Linked DNA regions of Homo sapiens: region 2 is linked to region 1. Evidence: promoter capture Hi-C in 16 types of primary human blood cells and fetal thymus (Javierre and others, 2016). All regions are on one chromosome and are shown on one strand. Each heading gives the region's core, a stretch centred on a gene start or on the middle of the fragment in contact. The rest is flanking DNA. Distances are from core to core; before and after follow the strand shown. Region 1 holds the start of ADRB2 (adrenoceptor beta 2). Region 2 overlaps SH3TC2 (SH3 domain and tetratricopeptide repeats 2).

Region 1 (6,678 bases), core at 2,834-5,333:
TTATGAGTGAGAACATGAGGTGTTTGGTTTTCTGTTCCTGTGTTAGTTTGCTGAGAATGATGGTTTCCAGCTTCATCCATGCCCCTGCAAAAGACATGAAGTCATCCTTTTTTATGGCTGCACAGTATTCCATGGTGTATATGTGCCACATTTTCTTTATCAAGTCTATTCTTGATGGGCATTTGGGTTGGTTCCAAGTCTTTGCTATTGTGAACAGTGCTGCAATAAACATACATGTCCATGTGTCTTTATAGTAGAATGATTTATAATCCTTAGGGTATATACCAGGTAATGGGATTGCTGGGTCAAATGGTATTTCTTGTTCTAGATCCTTGAGGGATTGCCACACTGTCTTCCACAATGTTTGAACTAATTTACATTCCTACCAACAGTGTAAAAGTGTTCCTATTTCTCCACATCCTTTCCAGCATCTGTTGTTTCCTGACTTCCTGTTTTTTTTTTGAGACGGAGTCTCACTGTGTCACCCCGGATGGAGTGCAGTGGCACAATCTCGGCTCACTGCAACCTCCACCTCCCAGGTTCAAGCGATTCTCCTGTTTCAGCCCCCAGAGTAGGTCAGACTACAGGCATGCCACAACTTCTGGCTAATTTTTGTATTTTTATTAGAGACGAAGTTTCACCATGTTGGTCAGGCTGCTCTCGAAGTCCTGACCTCAGGTGATCCACCCACCTCAGCCTCCCAAAGTGCTAGGATTACAGGCATGAGCCACTGCGCCCGGTCTGTTTCCTGATGTGTTAATGATCGCCATTGTATCTGGTGTGAGATGGTATTTCATTGTGGTTTTGATTTGCATTTCACTAATAACCAGTGCTGATGATCTTTTCTTCATATGTTTGTTGGCTGCATTAATGTCTTCTTTTGAGAAGTGTCTGTTCATATCCTTTGCCCACTTTTTCATGGGGCTGTTTGTTTTTTCTTGTAAATTTGTTTAAGTTCTTTGTAGATTCTGGATATTAGCCCTTTGTCAGATGGATAGATTGCAAAATTTTTCCCCCTTTCTGTAGGTTGCCTGTTCACCCTGATGATAGTTTATTTTGCTGTGCAGAAACTCTTTAGTTTAATTAGATCCCATTTGTCAATTTTGGCTTTTGTTGCCATTGCTTTTGATGTTTTAGTCATGAAGTCTTTGCCCATGCCTATGTCCTGGATGTTATTGCCTAGATTTTCTTCTAGGGTTTTTATGGTTTTAGGTCTTACGTTTAAGTCTTTAATTCATCTTGAGTTAATTCTTGTATAAGGTGTAAGGAAGGGGTCCAGTTTCAGTTTTCTGCATATGGCTAGCCAGTCCTTCTTGATTTAGTATTTGTGGGTTTTAAAAAAGGAGTTTCCCAAAATATTCAGTTAAACTTTTAAGTGACTTACGTGTATATCTAAATACATGATCAGTTAATATTTGTCTTAAAGGGGTTTTCTTTGTTCTTTTCTTATTATAGGAAGGTTAAACAATATGCTTATTTATGCCATAGCTTCACAAACAGGAAGGAGGTTTTAAATGGTTTAGTTCCACAATTTGAGTAGATGCATATTTAAAGAAACGTTGTTGCATAATAAATACTGCCTCTTCCTAAAATGCATCATGCCACAGCCAATTTTGGAAAACACAAATATGAGGTGAGTGTATTTTGAAAACTATGTGAATATAATAGATCTTTAATTCATATTTGTGGATTTTATGGGAAATACTTGTTTTCTAAGGCATCTGTCTTGCAAAAAGTCAGTTTCTGCTATGAAGGATGTTAAAGGGGATATGTAGGTTAAATTCTGTTTCTGAGCTTTGCTTCCAGAGTAAACACCCAACTTACTTTTGCCCTAAAGTATTTTATTGTTCTAGTAGAGAAGACTAACAACATATTCTAAACCACTAAGTAATTTATGTAAACTTCGCTTACAAACTACACTTGTGTGACACTTATATGAGCAAAAGCATTTTCATATTTCTTACTATATCATTCAATTCTTGCTTACCCCAATGGAAGTGACTTTATGCCCCTTTAGAGACAATGGAAATCAGGTACTTCGTGATTTCTCTTAAAAAAAAAAAAAATGAACTAGAAAGCTCCAAGTTTGGTGAATCTGGAACCTGGGTATTCCAGTTCCAGTTGTAGCCCTTCCTCCCTATCCATCACTCCTGTCTGCATGTAATTATGCAATACATTGAAAAGATTAAAAGATGGGTCTTGGACTCAGGCAGACCTGGGTCAAATCCAGATTCTGGCACTGCCCAGCCATTGCCCCTGGGCAAGCCATTTTCCTCTTTGAACCTCATTTGTGAATTAAGCTAAAAATAGTCCCCACCCCCATGGGACTGTGGGAAGGATTAAATAGAATAATGCATGAAAAGCAAATAGCAGAATGGTCCATAAATGTTAACCATTGTTATGTTATTATGTAATCTACAAAGTACGTTTAGTTACACTTCATGAAATACTTTCAGTTTTTCAAAGACACCACTAATACATGGGAAATCAAACCCTGAAAATTAATTTCACTTTAGCAGTAAAGTCACATGCCAGATGGAAAGGATAGTATTTCATGAACAAAGATCTTACTTTTGAGATTTGGTCTTACTTTTTTCTTTTTCTTAAGGGAGAATTATCTTGTGTTTTTTGTTTTGTTTTGTTTTGAGATGGAGTCTTGTTCTGTCACCCAGGCTGGAGCGCAGTGACGTGATCTCGGCTCACTGCAACCTTCACCTCCCGGGTTCAAGAGATTCTCCTGTCTCAGCCTCCCGAGTAGCTGGGACTACAGGTACGTGCCACCACACCTGGCTAATTTTTGTATTTTTAGTAGAGACAAGAGTTACACCATATTGGCCAGGATCTTTTGCTTTCTATAGCTTCAAAATGTTCTTAATGTTAAGACATTCTTAATACTCTGAACCATATGAATTTGCCATTTTGGTAAGTCACAGACGCCAGATGGTGGCAATTTCACATGGCACAACCCGAAAGATTAACAAACTATCCAGCAGATGAAAGGATTTTTTTTAGTTTCATTGGGTTTACTGAAGAAATTGTTTGAATTCTCATTGCATCTCCAGTTCAACAGATAATGAGTGAGTGATGCCACACTCTCAAGAGTTAAAAACAAAACAACAAAAAAATTAAAACAAAAGCACACAACTTTCTCTCTCTGTCCCAAAATACATACTTGCATACCCCCGCTCCAGATAAAATCCAAAGGGTAAAACTGTCTTCATGCCTGCAAATTCCTAAGGAGGGCACCTAAAGTACTTGACAGCGAGTGTGCTGAGGAAATCAGCAGCTGTTGAAGTCACCTCCTGTGCTCTTGCCAAATGTTTGAAAGGGAATACACTGGGTTACCGGGTGTATGTTGGGAGGGGAGCATTATCAGTGCTCGGGTGAGGCAAGTTCGGAGTACCCAGATGGAGACATCCGTGTCTGTGTCGCTCTGGATGCCTCCAAGCCAGCGTGTGTTTACTTTCTGTGTGTGTCACCATGTCTTTGTGCTTCTGGGTGCTTCTGTGTTTGTTTCTGGCCGCGTTTCTGTGTTGGACAGGGGTGACTTTGTGCCGGATGGCTTCTGTGTGAGAGCGCGCGCGAGTGTGCATGTCGGTGAGCTGGGAGGGTGTGTCTCAGTGTCTATGGCTGTGGTTCGGTATAAGTCTGAGCATGTCTGCCAGGGTGTATTTGTGCCTGTATGTGCGTGCCTCGGTGGGCACTCTCGTTTCCTTCCGAATGTGGGGCAGTGCCGGTGTGCTGCCCTCTGCCTTGAGACCTCAAGCCGCGCAGGCGCCCAGGGCAGGCAGGTAGCGGCCACAGAAGAGCCAAAAGCTCCCGGGTTGGCTGGTAAGGACACCACCTCCAGCTTTAGCCCTCTGGGGCCAGCCAGGGTAGCCGGGAAGCAGTGGTGGCCCGCCCTCCAGGGAGCAGTTGGGCCCCGCCCGGGCCAGCCCCAGGAGAAGGAGGGCGAGGGGAGGGGAGGGAAAGGGGAGGAGTGCCTCGCCCCTTCGCGGCTGCCGGCGTGCCATTGGCCGAAAGTTCCCGTACGTCACGGCGAGGGCAGTTCCCCTAAAGTCCTGTGCACATAACGGGCAGAACGCACTGCGAAGCGGCTTCTTCAGAGCACGGGCTGGAACTGGCAGGCACCGCGAGCCCCTAGCACCCGACAAGCTGAGTGTGCAGGACGAGTCCCCACCACACCCACACCACAGCCGCTGAATGAGGCTTCCAGGCGTCCGCTCGCGGCCCGCAGAGCCCCGCCGTGGGTCCGCCCGCTGAGGCGCCCCCAGCCAGTGCGCTCACCTGCCAGACTGCGCGCCATGGGGCAACCCGGGAACGGCAGCGCCTTCTTGCTGGCACCCAATGGAAGCCATGCGCCGGACCACGACGTCACGCAGGAAAGGGACGAGGTGTGGGTGGTGGGCATGGGCATCGTCATGTCTCTCATCGTCCTGGCCATCGTGTTTGGCAATGTGCTGGTCATCACAGCCATTGCCAAGTTCGAGCGTCTGCAGACGGTCACCAACTACTTCATCACTTCACTGGCCTGTGCTGATCTGGTCATGGGCCTGGCAGTGGTGCCCTTTGGGGCCGCCCATATTCTTATGAAAATGTGGACTTTTGGCAACTTCTGGTGCGAGTTTTGGACTTCCATTGATGTGCTGTGCGTCACGGCCAGCATTGAGACCCTGTGCGTGATCGCAGTGGATCGCTACTTTGCCATTACTTCACCTTTCAAGTACCAGAGCCTGCTGACCAAGAATAAGGCCCGGGTGATCATTCTGATGGTGTGGATTGTGTCAGGCCTTACCTCCTTCTTGCCCATTCAGATGCACTGGTACCGGGCCACCCACCAGGAAGCCATCAACTGCTATGCCAATGAGACCTGCTGTGACTTCTTCACGAACCAAGCCTATGCCATTGCCTCTTCCATCGTGTCCTTCTACGTTCCCCTGGTGATCATGGTCTTCGTCTACTCCAGGGTCTTTCAGGAGGCCAAAAGGCAGCTCCAGAAGATTGACAAATCTGAGGGCCGCTTCCATGTCCAGAACCTTAGCCAGGTGGAGCAGGATGGGCGGACGGGGCATGGACTCCGCAGATCTTCCAAGTTCTGCTTGAAGGAGCACAAAGCCCTCAAGACGTTAGGCATCATCATGGGCACTTTCACCCTCTGCTGGCTGCCCTTCTTCATCGTTAACATTGTGCATGTGATCCAGGATAACCTCATCCGTAAGGAAGTTTACATCCTCCTAAATTGGATAGGCTATGTCAATTCTGGTTTCAATCCCCTTATCTACTGCCGGAGCCCAGATTTCAGGATTGCCTTCCAGGAGCTTCTGTGCCTGCGCAGGTCTTCTTTGAAGGCCTATGGGAATGGCTACTCCAGCAACGGCAACACAGGGGAGCAGAGTGGATATCACGTGGAACAGGAGAAAGAAAATAAACTGCTGTGTGAAGACCTCCCAGGCACGGAAGACTTTGTGGGCCATCAAGGTACTGTGCCTAGCGATAACATTGATTCACAAGGGAGGAATTGTAGTACAAATGACTCACTGCTGTAAAGCAGTTTTTCTACTTTTAAAGACCCCCCCCCCCAACAGAACACTAAACAGACTATTTAACTTGAGGGTAATAAACTTAGAATAAAATTGTAAAATTGTATAGAGATATGCAGAAGGAAGGGCATCCTTCTGCCTTTTTTATTTTTTTAAGCTGTAAAAAGAGAGAAAACTTATTTGAGTGATTATTTGTTATTTGTACAGTTCAGTTCCTCTTTGCATGGAATTTGTAAGTTTATGTCTAAAGAGCTTTAGTCCTAGAGGACCTGAGTCTGCTATATTTTCATGACTTTTCCATGTATCTACCTCACTATTCAAGTATTAGGGGTAATATATTGCTGCTGGTAATTTGTATCTGAAGGAGATTTTCCTTCCTACACCCTTGGACTTGAGGATTTTGAGTATCTCGGACCTTTCAGCTGTGAACATGGACTCTTCCCCCACTCCTCTTATTTGCTCACACGGGGTATTTTAGGCAGGGATTTGAGGAGCAGCTTCAGTTGTTTTCCCGAGCAAAGTCTAAAGTTTACAGTAAATAAATTGTTTGACCATGCCTTCATTGCACCTGTTTCTCCAAAACCCCTTGACTGGAGTGCTGTTGCCTCCCCCACTGGAAACCGCAGGTAACTACTTGTAATTACTGCCCATGACTTAATGTAGAATGATACAAGAATGACATGCACAGATTGCTTAACCCTTTCATTTGCCTTTGAGTCTGCTGCTGCAAAGCTGCATCTCTCCTGACACTTGTGCCCCAAATCAGTTCTGCCTGCTCTTAGTATAGCTCAACTCTCCCTATGGTTATTGTTCTGTGTTGTTACCTCAGAAACACTGACTCACAGAAGCGGAGTTAAGGGGATATGTTTTTTTCTCTCCACGTGCACCCACCACCCACCTTCCAGTTCTACTTGTTTCAAAACTGTTTATATTTCTGTCTTGGCCATGTGTTACAGTGGAGCTCTTTGTACTGCATCAGGGCTTGGCATTTTAGGGATAAGGAAGATGTTCTTATGAGGAAGCTACTCAGACATGGCCCCGTAATTCTGAGGGAAAATTCAAAAGGCATTGGTCATGGGGAGAAAAGCTGGAGAACACATAACTGATGGATACCTCATGAACTAGAAACAGAATTTTA
Region 2 (4,378 bases), core at 437-2,936, 200 kb after region 1:
GTACTAATTCCATGTCTGTCTCCTTACTGGCCTGAAGTTCACAATAGAGTCGTACAGCCTGCAGGAGATAGTTTCTGGCTGGATGCTGAGCCCAGGACTTAAGGCTCAGGTGGCCAAGATTGGCCATAGCCACTGCCTGGTTATGCACATCTCCCACCTCCTGGGCTCTGTTCAAGGCCCGAAGATAGCTCTTGGCTGCCCTGTTCACCCGGCCTTCACCTTGGAGTGCAAGTCCCAGGAGGTTATAGATGACTCCCCTTTGAGTGAGACTCTCTGTCTCCTTCAGGGAGCATAGCAGTGGCTCAAGCACATCCAAAGCCTTCTTGGCCTGGCTGGCTAAGAGATAGGCCCATGCCAGGCAGAGAGAAGACTCAAAGGATTCCTGCTCACCCAGCAGCTGCCCTAGCACCAAGGCCTGGCTCAGGTAGTGGATGGCACCGTCAGGAGACCTGTGCTCGAGGTACACTTTGGAAAGGATGAGACACAGGGCCCTCTGGGTGCTCCGGTCTGCTAGTTCCTCACAGGCAGCCAGGGCCTGTCTGAGCATTGGGCAGGCCAAGGCAGAAACTTCACCCCAGCCTGGGGAAGGAAAGCCAAGGAGCTTGGTTGTGTTCTGGAGGACAAGGTGGACCTGCCAAATAGGAAGAGACATCCCTTGGGCACTCTGGATACCATGTTGCTGGACAGAGGCCACTGCAAGGTGTGGAAGATATTTCTTGTCATACAGAAAACTCAAAACACTGGCCACAGCCTCAGAGGCAGGAGGGTGTCCAGAGAGGAGCTGCAGGCGCTCGGCAAAGGGCAGGACCTCCTCGTGCCGGCCTAGGCTCAGGAGCAAGCGGATGGCCAGAAAGCAGGCCCTGGCCTCCAGCGGGCTGCTGCCCACCACAATCCCCTGGCGCAGCACGTAGGCCACCACGTCGAGTTCATGCTTGGCACTAGACTCACGGTCAGGCAGGCAGGCCAGCAGGGCACCTGCCTTTTCCAACAGGGCGGAGCCTTTATGTCTCAGCCTCTGTTTCAGGTAGATGGCAGCCAAATTGATGTACAGAGTGGCCACCAAGGATAGGTCCTCAAATGCTCCATTGAGAATGTGGATGGCCTCCTCGAAGTACACCCTGGCCTGAGAGAGTTTGACCTTCCTGATGCTCAGCCGGCCCAGGAGGAAGCAGAGACGGGCATGGGCCCAGGTCATGTGGCTCTTCTTGGCCCACTTTCTTGATGCCTCCAGGTAGGCCACAAACTCATCCTCCTCAGAGAAGCTATAAAAGGAAGAAGTGAGGAAAGAGAAGGAGAAGTCATAGAGACTCTTAAAGTGGTCAGCATAACCCTCATGATCCAGAAAAGCCAATATGGGGGCGAAGTTCTCAGCCTCCTCCTCCTGACCAGTGCTTAGGTCCATGAGCAGTTCCGGGTCATCAAGGTCATCAGGCTCCGGCAGGCGATAGCTGTCTGAGGTGGCCGAGAGGAGCTCCTCCTCCAGGCTGGAGTCCTCAGAGCTGCTGGACTGTCTGGACCCCACGGCCTGATGCTCCTCCCAGGCTCTGCCAGGCCTGACCTCCTTGAAACCTTCAGGCTGGGATGCTGTAAGGACAGGCAAAGTTGAGCAACCTTGGGCACCTGCACCTAAGGTGGCCGCTCTTGGCAAGAGGACAGAAGTGCTGTCCTCAAGGATGAATGTCAGGTTCAGCATGATCGCTACTCACCACTCAGATCATTTGGAGGATTCTGGATGGATTCAAACCCACCTAAGTAGAGATGAAGAACAGGTCTGGTGTTAGGTCAGGATGGGCCACCATGCCCATGCCTCCAGGTGTACCCCAGATCAGTGGCCTCTTAGGAGCCTTGGCATTCAAGACCTTCAGTCATCATTAAGGAACAGGGCAGAATTATCCTTTCACCCATCATCTTAAGAGCTGTAGGGGCCTAATCATCTTGTTTAACCCATGCACTTTACAGTTGGGAACCAAGGTATACGTGAAACTCAGAGTCCGAGAAGAAAACCTGGAAACACAGGCTCTATGTCAAGAGGTATGGGTACTGTAGGGGGGTGGGGGGTGGGGACAGTGGGGGTCCTGATAGAATCTGAAGATCAGAGAGATGCAGCTCCCAAATCTCTCAGCGAGTTCACGATGGAGCCAGGACACAACTCCCAGCACAGAACACGTGGGAGCACATGGTGCTGCCTCCCACTTCTAAATGTATCACATCCTTCCTTCTTGCCTCCTCCATTCATTCATGATTCATCCACTTGGCAGACATTGGTTCCATGTGTCCACTGGGCTGGACACTGTGTTTGTAAAAGTGGCAGGGGCGAGGGGCCAGAAGTGAAGGGCGAATAAAAAGGAGCAAGGATGCATCTGAGACTGAAGTAGAGGATGGGAGAATCTGGAGTGCAGTTTTAGACCTTTGGGGTTTGAGGTAGCTGCAGGAGCTCTAGGCAGATAATGATGTAGGTCTGGAGCCAAGGAGAAAAACTGAGACTTTGCAAACACAGGTTTGTGACCCAAAGCAGGTCACAAATTGCTGGCCAGAGTCCCAGGACTAAATGTAATCACACAGGTGAGGCATCTGGGGGAAAAGAAAAGCAGCAGGGGAGTGAGGGAGTGAGGGAGTAGGGGGAGTTTGTTAATAAGCCTGGGCAACTCACTGGCAGCCAGTAGCCAGTGAGGGAGACTGAAAAGGCACAGTCAGAGAGAAAAGGGGGTTACAGAGGCCAAGGTGACTTAAAACATAACCACCTATTGCCACCAAGTGCAACCGGACTAGGTAAGAACCAAGAAGACACCTTGGGTTTGGCAGTGAAGAAGTGACCACTGTTGGCTAAAGCAACCACAGTGGAACTGTGGAGGTGAAGGCTAGCTTCACACTCCACAGGATGGTAGCTGCTAGAGGGAAGATTCTACCTCTTCTTAGCAGAGAAGTAACAACTGTCTGTGCCACCACCCTGAGTTCTCTAGTGAACTTTGAGGACCAGCAAGCCCCTCACCAAGTCAAACCTTTTCCTGCTGTTCTCCAGGATGGCATCTCCAGAGATTGTCATTGCAGAACCTCCAGATCTGTAACCCCCAGAGGGTAGAAAGCCCCGCAGCTAAAGATGAAGAGCTATAGAGCTTGGCTAAGGAGAGCTGTTCAAATGCCCTGGCCTCTCTGATGTGGAGGGGTACACGCCCCTCTTGGGCCACCTCTTCTCTTCTGGCCAAGAGTATGAGTGATGCGCAAGTTACAAAATGGTGTCCCCTCTCTAGGAGGAAGAATTACAAAGGGCCATCCTTCCCTATGGTATACGCCTTGGGGAAGCTGCAATTTACCAACAAGATGTTCTCCTGCTGCTTGTCTTGGTGCTGGGGCAGCCTGCACAACCATAAGGTGCGGACTGCACGCCGCAGAGCTGCACTCCTGATCTTTGAGTGAGAGTCAAGTGCTGTCTGGGGCCTCCTCTTACATCCTCCCCACCACTGGACCAACAGCTGGCAGAAATCATGATCCAAGTCTGTGCCCAGGCCTTCTCCCCAAGGAACACTGCTAGTACACCTCAATTTTCAGACATCAGGCTCCCGCCTACTGGGCAGTGTTTACAACTCTAGCTTCCTGCTCAACCTCATAAGGCAATATGATCTGCTTGTGGCTTGTGGCAAGAAAGCTCTGCTAGGGCAGGGTGCTTATGCCTGAGGCATGTGCTTTCACAAACACTCTTTATGCACGGACATAGCTCTCAACTCCCTGCTCTACTCCTGGGAGATGGCCTGAGGGCCCCTTCAGCAGAATCTCTAGCTGTATCCATAAAATATGGATCATCTAATCTGGCTACACAAGAGCGGACACAATGTCACCATCAATGAAGAGATGGGAGAAACAAAAATTCTTCCTCAAGTCACCATCAATGAGAAAATGTACTCCCTGACACACAACAGTAGGCCTTTCTCAAAGTAAGAGTATCATTCATTCAGTCAGTCAGTCCTTCAGACACTGCTCAAAACCAGTCAGTTTGTCAGAGGAATCTTTCACAATTGTTGAGATCTGATCCCATGACACAGAAAACATCCAAGACTAACACACCCAACAACTCAAAGTCATTTTGTGTCAGGGGCAGTGTGGTAAAGTGGATTGCTCTGACTAGCAGTTCTTATCCTAGCTCAGGCACTAATTCGTTTAGGCCTGTTTCCCAATCTGTAATGTGAGACAAGAAATCATCTCTTAAGGCCTTTTCACAGCGGTAACATTTACAGCCCCACCCATCTCACTGGGGGCTTACTTCAGTCCTAGAAGGTACCTCAGCCAGGACTCAGGAAGTTCTCCTCCCCCAAGATTAGGAGGGAAGACCCAGTACAGCCAGTCACCCACGGTATAGGTGAGTTGGTTTCATCATGTCTCATAG

Evidence for each region. Contacts are between HindIII fragments. The CHiCAGO score rates a contact against its expected background, and 5 or more counts as called.
Region 2: a contact is called between a fragment that was not itself captured here and the fragment with the promoter of ADRB2 in region 1, in 4 of 17 cell types (endothelial precursors, megakaryocytes, naive CD8 T cells and 1 more). The highest score is 7.7, in endothelial precursors.

Annotation. Positions count from the first base shown.
Region 1 is chr5:148,822,528-148,829,205 of GRCh38, forward strand. It overlaps ADRB2 (adrenoceptor beta 2), which reads left to right and starts at 4,084. Exons shown (of 1, transcript NM_000024.6): 1 at 4,084-6,096. The coding sequence starts at 4,305. The coding sequence ends at 5,546. RefSeq lists enhancers at 3,383-3,542, 4,399-4,984 and silencers at 3,813-4,122, 4,213-4,352. The HindIII fragment of the contact is 9,818 bases long and covers 1-6,678 here.
Region 2 is chr5:149,026,971-149,031,348 of GRCh38, forward strand. SH3TC2 (SH3 domain and tetratricopeptide repeats 2) reads right to left here. Exons shown (of 17, transcript NM_024577.4): 10 at 1,707-1,748; 11 at 1-1,584. Among named protein-coding and RNA genes, the nearest start is that of MIR584, 33 kb to the right of the region's middle. RefSeq lists an enhancer at 4,151-4,320 and a cis regulatory region at 4,236. The HindIII fragment of the contact is 8,506 bases long and covers 1-4,378 here.